Regions from separate parts of the Homo sapiens genome. Here region 2 is linked to region 1. Evidence: promoter capture Hi-C in 16 types of primary human blood cells and fetal thymus (Javierre and others, 2016). All regions are on one chromosome and are shown on one strand. Each heading gives the region's core, a stretch centred on a gene start or on the middle of the fragment in contact. The rest is flanking DNA. Distances are from core to core; before and after follow the strand shown.

Region 1 (2,825 bases), core at 217-2,716:
GGGAAACATTATCACTACTCCTCCCCTGTCACCACCAAGTGTGGCCACCACCACCAACGTTAGTGAGTGACTGTGGTGATATGATGACCAAGTGGCCAGGTCAGCAAGTGGTGCAGCCTGTGTCTCACTGGAAGAGGTTAAAGTCTTTCTAAAACAAAATACCATGGCATCAAAGTGGCCCAGAACTCCCTTCTTTGAGCTTTCCCTGTGTTAGAGCCCTTCCTTGGGTTGGGAGTTAAACCCATAGTCTTACCTTCATCTGTTTAGGGCCATCAGCTTCAAAGAACAAGTCATCCTCATTGCCACTGTAATAAAAACAGGGACATGTCTCAATTATGTCTTCTAAACAGGTTTATTTTTCCTTCCCTGTGTACAAGACTTGACTGTTCATAAGAAACTGCAAACAGCCTGCCTCTCAAAGCTGCCTGAAACACCTGGCAAGTTTCACAGTGATATGCGCAGAACAGTCCAGAAGGCAGATTCTAGGCCTGGCAGGTGGGCACCCTGGGTGCTCCCTGTTGGATCTTGAGGCCTAACCTCTAGCCCAGCAGAGTCAGCTAAAATCTGAGCTCTCCCTCTCCCTCCAAGCCACACTTTGCAAAGGGATTCCTTGTATTGTGGGCTTGGAGTCTTTTCTCCCCATTTGCCTCTGCAGGAAGCCCTTGCAACAACACATCTGGATAGCCTCCAGGTCCCAAGGCTGGAGGGACTTGTAATGGGAAAGTAGTCTTTAAATCAGATTTACTTGGCACCCTGTTTGCCACTGAAAGAGGCAATTTAGGGGAAAAATCTGGTCTCCAAGCACAGATAACACTCTACTCTTGAAAGAGGAGACCTGCTCATGTTACTGGTCTCAGCGTCTCCACTGACCTGTAATAAGCCATCATTTCACTGGCGAGCTCAGGTACTTCTGCCATGGCTGCTTCAGACACCTGTGTAAAAAGGAGAAAATGAGTGACTTCCCCATGACGGCTACGTTCATGTGTGATTTCTCTCAGCATCCAGTGCATGGCAGTCATGCAAAGAAATGATCTCTGAGTAAATGAATGAATGTGTGAAAGAGAAGTCCTTTGGGTCTAGAGAAAAGCATTTGCTAAACCAAACCCCAACTAGCAATGTATTGGCTAGGAGAGCTGGAGCAGAGGCTTTGACACTAACCTTTAGGGTGTCAGCTGTTAGATAAGCAGTATCCATTCCCAGAATATTTCCCGAGTCATAAGCATTATATTACACCTGGCATTTTTGCAAAAAGCTGAGAGAGGGAGGCAGAGAGGGAAGGAGAGGGAGAGACAGAGAAAGAAAGAGAGAGAGAGAGAGAATATGCATACACACAAAGAGGCAGAGAGACAGAGAGACTCCCTTAGCACCTAGTTGTAAGGAAGATTAAAGTCATACTTGAGCAATGAAGATTGGCTGAAGAGAATCCCAGAGCAGCCTGTTGTGCCTTGTGCCTCGAAGAGGTTTGGTATCTGCCAGTTTCTCCCTCGCTGTTTTTATGGCTTTCAAAAGCAGAAGTAGGAGGCTGAGAAATTTCTCTGTTGAATACCTGATTTCACAATCAAGTTAAAGGAAAGGGGAAAAGAGTATTGGTGGAAGCTTCTTAGGGGAGGGGACTAATAAACTGAGATAATTCTCTGGTTCATGGAAGGGCAAGGAGTAGCAAACTATGACACATTTTGCAAATGTATCACCATGCAAATATGCATTGTTTTCCTGACAATCGTTGTGCAGTTGATGTCCACATTAAAATACTGGATTTTCCCACGTTAGAAGAATGTTTAAATTTAGTATATGTGGGACAAAGTGGAAGACACACAGATTTATACATGCACATACTTTTCTTCATTCACTTCTTTGTACTTAAGTTTAGGAATCTTCCCACTTACAGATGGATAAATGGGTACAATGAAGGGCCAATAGCCCTCCCTGTCTGTATTGAGGGTGTGGGTCTCTACCTTGGGTGCTGTTCTCTGCCTCAGGAGCTCTCTGTCAATTGCAGGAGCCTCTGAGGAGAAAATTGACCTTTCTTGGCTGGGGCAGAGAACATACGGTATGCAGGGTTCAGGCTCCTGACGGAGTTGGGGCAACCCTGGAGATAAGCTCACACAACCCTGCAAGACCAGGTGCTGTTACCCTAGCCAATCTCATGGATGAACCAGATCAATGCCAGATGAGCTCTGCCTAAAATGATTTTTTGGTGAACTCTGAAAAGTGGAATATTGTTTCTGTAAGAATATCCATCTGAGACTCTATCTCTTGGTAATACCAACCAAGAGTTATCAGTTTCTCTTTAACCGAGACACCAGCAAAGTGCCTGCTCCAGGGTACTGCCCAGGGGAGCCCTCCATTTGTAGAATGAATGAGAGTCCAGGTTATGAACAGTGCCTGGAGTGTAGGAACACCCTCCTTTGCCTCTTTGACAGGTCTGCATCATAACACTTTTTTTTTTTTTTTGAGACAGAGTCTCACTCTGTCGCCCAGGCTGGAGTGCAGTGGCACGATCTCGGCCCCCTGCAAGTTCCGCCTCCCGGGTTCACACCATTCTCCTGCCTCAGCCTCCCCAGCAGCTGGGACTACAGGCACCTGCCGCCACGCCCGGCTAATTTTTTGTATTTTTAGTAGAGACAGGGTTTCACCATGTTAGCCAGGATGGTCTCGATCTCCTGACCTTGTGATCTGCCCGCCTCGGCCTCCCAAAGTGTTGGGATTACAGGCGTGAGCCACCGTGTCCAGCCTGTAACACTTCTTATAGCACTGAGTTGAAACCTTGCTCCTCCTGGTTCCTCCAGGAAACTGAAATCTTTTTGAGCCAAGTCTAGCACAGT
Region 2 (2,825 bases), core at 212-2,711, 34 kb before region 1:
TGTGTCCCCAACTCTTCTCCAACCACTCCTCCCAGAGCTTGTTTCTTAAGCCCCTTGTGGAGCTGATTGCTTTCCTCAAGGCAGCTCAGTTTTTCCCAGTTTGCTCCTGGTGGTCCTGAAATATGATTGACTCCTGAATACTCCAGGTGTGAAGGAGAGTGGGGGTGGCCTTTCTACTTGTCATGGCCTGGGTTTTAAGTTGCTGTCCAGTGGAGCAGAGGTGACTTTCCCAGTGAACTACATTTTTTCCCCTCTAAATCCTTAGCAATTTTGTCTCCAGAGGCAAGACCTGGCCAAACCATTTGTGTTGAGGATTGAATCAAGAATGATTGAGGAGATGACAGTAGTCCCCCCTCATCTGAGGAGGGCATGTTCCAAGCCCCTCAGTGAATGCCTGAAACTGTGGATAGTACCCAACTCTATATGTCTATGATTTTCCTATAAATTAATACATGCCTGTGACAATGTTTAATTTATAAATTAGGCAAAGAGGCCAGGCGCAGTGGCTCAAGCCTGTAATCCCAGCACTTTAGGAGGCTGAGGCCTCACCTGAGGTCAGGAGTTCGAGACCAGCCTGACCAACATGGAGAAACCCCGCCTCTACTAAAAATACAAAATTAGCTGGGCATGGTGGCAGGCGCCTGTAATCCCAGCTACTCGGGAGGCTGAGGCAGGAGAATCACTTGAACCCGGGAGGCGGGATTTGCGGTGAGCTGAGATCGTCTCATTGCACTACAGCCTGGGCAACAAGAGTGAAACTCCGACTCAAAAAAAAAAAAAAATTAGGCAAAGAAAGAAATTAACAACAATAAGTAATGAAATAGAACAATTCTAACAATATACTATAATAAAAGTTGTATGAATGTGGTCTCTTTCTCAAAATTACCTTTTTTTTTTGAGACAGGGTCTCACTTTATTGCCCAGGCTGGAGTGCAGTGGCACGATCACAGCTTACTGCTGCCTCGACCTCCTGGGACCAAGTGATCCTCCCACTTTAGCCTCCTGAGTAGCTGGGACCACAGGCATGCACCACTGTATCTGGATAATTTTGTTTATTTTTTTTTGCAGAGAGAGGAGGTCTCACTATGTTTCCCAGGCTGGTTTTGAATGCCTGGGCCCAAGGGATCCTCCTGCCTTGGCCTCCCAAAGTATTGGGATTACAAGCGTGAGCCACCATGCCTGCCCCAAAATTATCTTATTGTTCTATACCCACTCTTCTTCTTGTGATGATGTGAGGTGATCCATTGCCTCCTTGATGAGATGAAGTGAGGTGACTGATGTGGGCATAGTGATGCAGTGTTTAGGCTGATATTGGCCTGATGATATGTCAGAAGGAGGGTCATCTGCTTCGGTGATCCTGGATCATAGAGTCATGATGATGTCAATGGTTGGATGTCAGGAGCAGACGATGTCAATGACTAACGATAAGCTGGACAGGTGGGATGGTGGCACAAGATTTTATCACGCTACTCAGAATGGAGCACAATTTAAAACTTCTGAATTGTTTATTTTTGGAATTTTTCATTAATATTTTTGGATTGCAGTTGACTGTGGGTAACTGAAACTGTGGAATGTGAGACTGTGGAAAAGTGAGGGAGTACTGTATTATGGAACTGTAACTCTATTCGGTAGGGGAACAGAATTCACATTTGTGGGGCCCAGGTCTCTGCATCTGTAGGGATCCAGTTGTTTCATTTCTCGTTGTAGCAAGAACTTGGCTTTGGAATCAGACAGATTGATGTTTTCTATCATTCTAAATGGGTGCAGCTACACTTTCCTCAGGAGGTAGTTCTGAAAATTTAACAAAATGTGAATTTCTTGGTAAAAAAAAAAAACCTCAAAAATATTCAGTTTCCTTTCCTTTGTGTCTGATGTACTCCATCAAATACTTGGAAATATGTTTCTCTCATAGAAATGTCATTGATCTTTGTAATTCTGATTATCCACAAACCTTGGGGATTAGCTGTTTCAATGTTCCTATTTTACAGATAAGAAAATGGAGCCTGTGGTAAGTTAAGTGAGTTACTCATGGCTACTTAACTAATATTTTACTAGGTGATAGGCCAGAGCTAGAGCCCAGGTCACCTTCTTATCAATGCTCTGCCTTGTCTCTGTGCCTTCCTGTCTGTCTGTATGTGTATGTGCCTGTTGACAGTAAGGCATAGTTTAACCCAGTAGAACTACCGGTTTGTAATGAATTCCACTTGTAAATGACTGACCATTCAAGGAACAAGTGTTTTTTCTATGCTTGACACCTGTTTTGGATGCCAAAAAGGATACAAATGTAACTTCAGACACTCTGGGCCTCATTTTGCACTCATTAGCATGTCCAAAATTAAAAAGACTGACCACACCAAATATTGGTGAGGATGTGGAAGAACGGGAACTTTCATACACTGCTGGTGGGGATGTAAAATGGTACAATCCCTTTGGGTAACAGTTTGACGGTTTCTTAAAAAGTTAGACATATATATTTACCATATGACTCAGCCCTTCCACTTCTAGGTCTTTACCCAAGAGAAATGAAATGCTGTGCTTTTACAAATGTCTATACAGGAATGTACATAGCAACCTTATTTGTCATTGCAAAAAACAGAGACAATTCAACGTTGTCAAGAGTGAATGGATGAGCAAGCTGTGGTCTGTCTATGCAATGGTATCCTACTCAGCAAGACAAAGAGATGGGCTAAGGATACGCACAGCCATAAGCATGAATCTTGACATAATTGGGCTGAAAGAAGCCATACATGAAGGAGTATATACTCTGTCATTTTATTTATGTAAAATTCTAGAAAATGTAAATGAGCCTATGGAGACAGAATGCA

The links. Contacts are between HindIII fragments. The CHiCAGO score rates a contact against its expected background, and 5 or more counts as called.
Region 2: a contact is called between a fragment that was not itself captured here and the fragment with the promoter of IL1B in region 1, in 4 of 17 cell types (M2 macrophages, monocytes, M1 macrophages and 1 more). The highest score is 6.7, in M2 macrophages.

What each region holds. Positions count from the first base shown.
Region 1 is chr2:112,835,313-112,838,137 of GRCh38, forward strand. It overlaps IL1B (interleukin 1 beta), which reads right to left and starts at 1,467. Exons shown (of 7, transcript NM_000576.3): 1 at 1,396-1,467; 2 at 871-932; 3 at 254-305. The coding sequence starts at 917. The HindIII fragment of the contact is 1,771 bases long and covers 1-1,594 here.
Region 2 is chr2:112,801,815-112,804,639 of GRCh38, forward strand. No RefSeq gene overlaps it. Among named protein-coding and RNA genes, the nearest start is that of IL1A, 19 kb to the left of the region's middle. RefSeq lists an enhancer at 2,037-2,096. The HindIII fragment of the contact is 4,248 bases long and covers 1-2,825 here.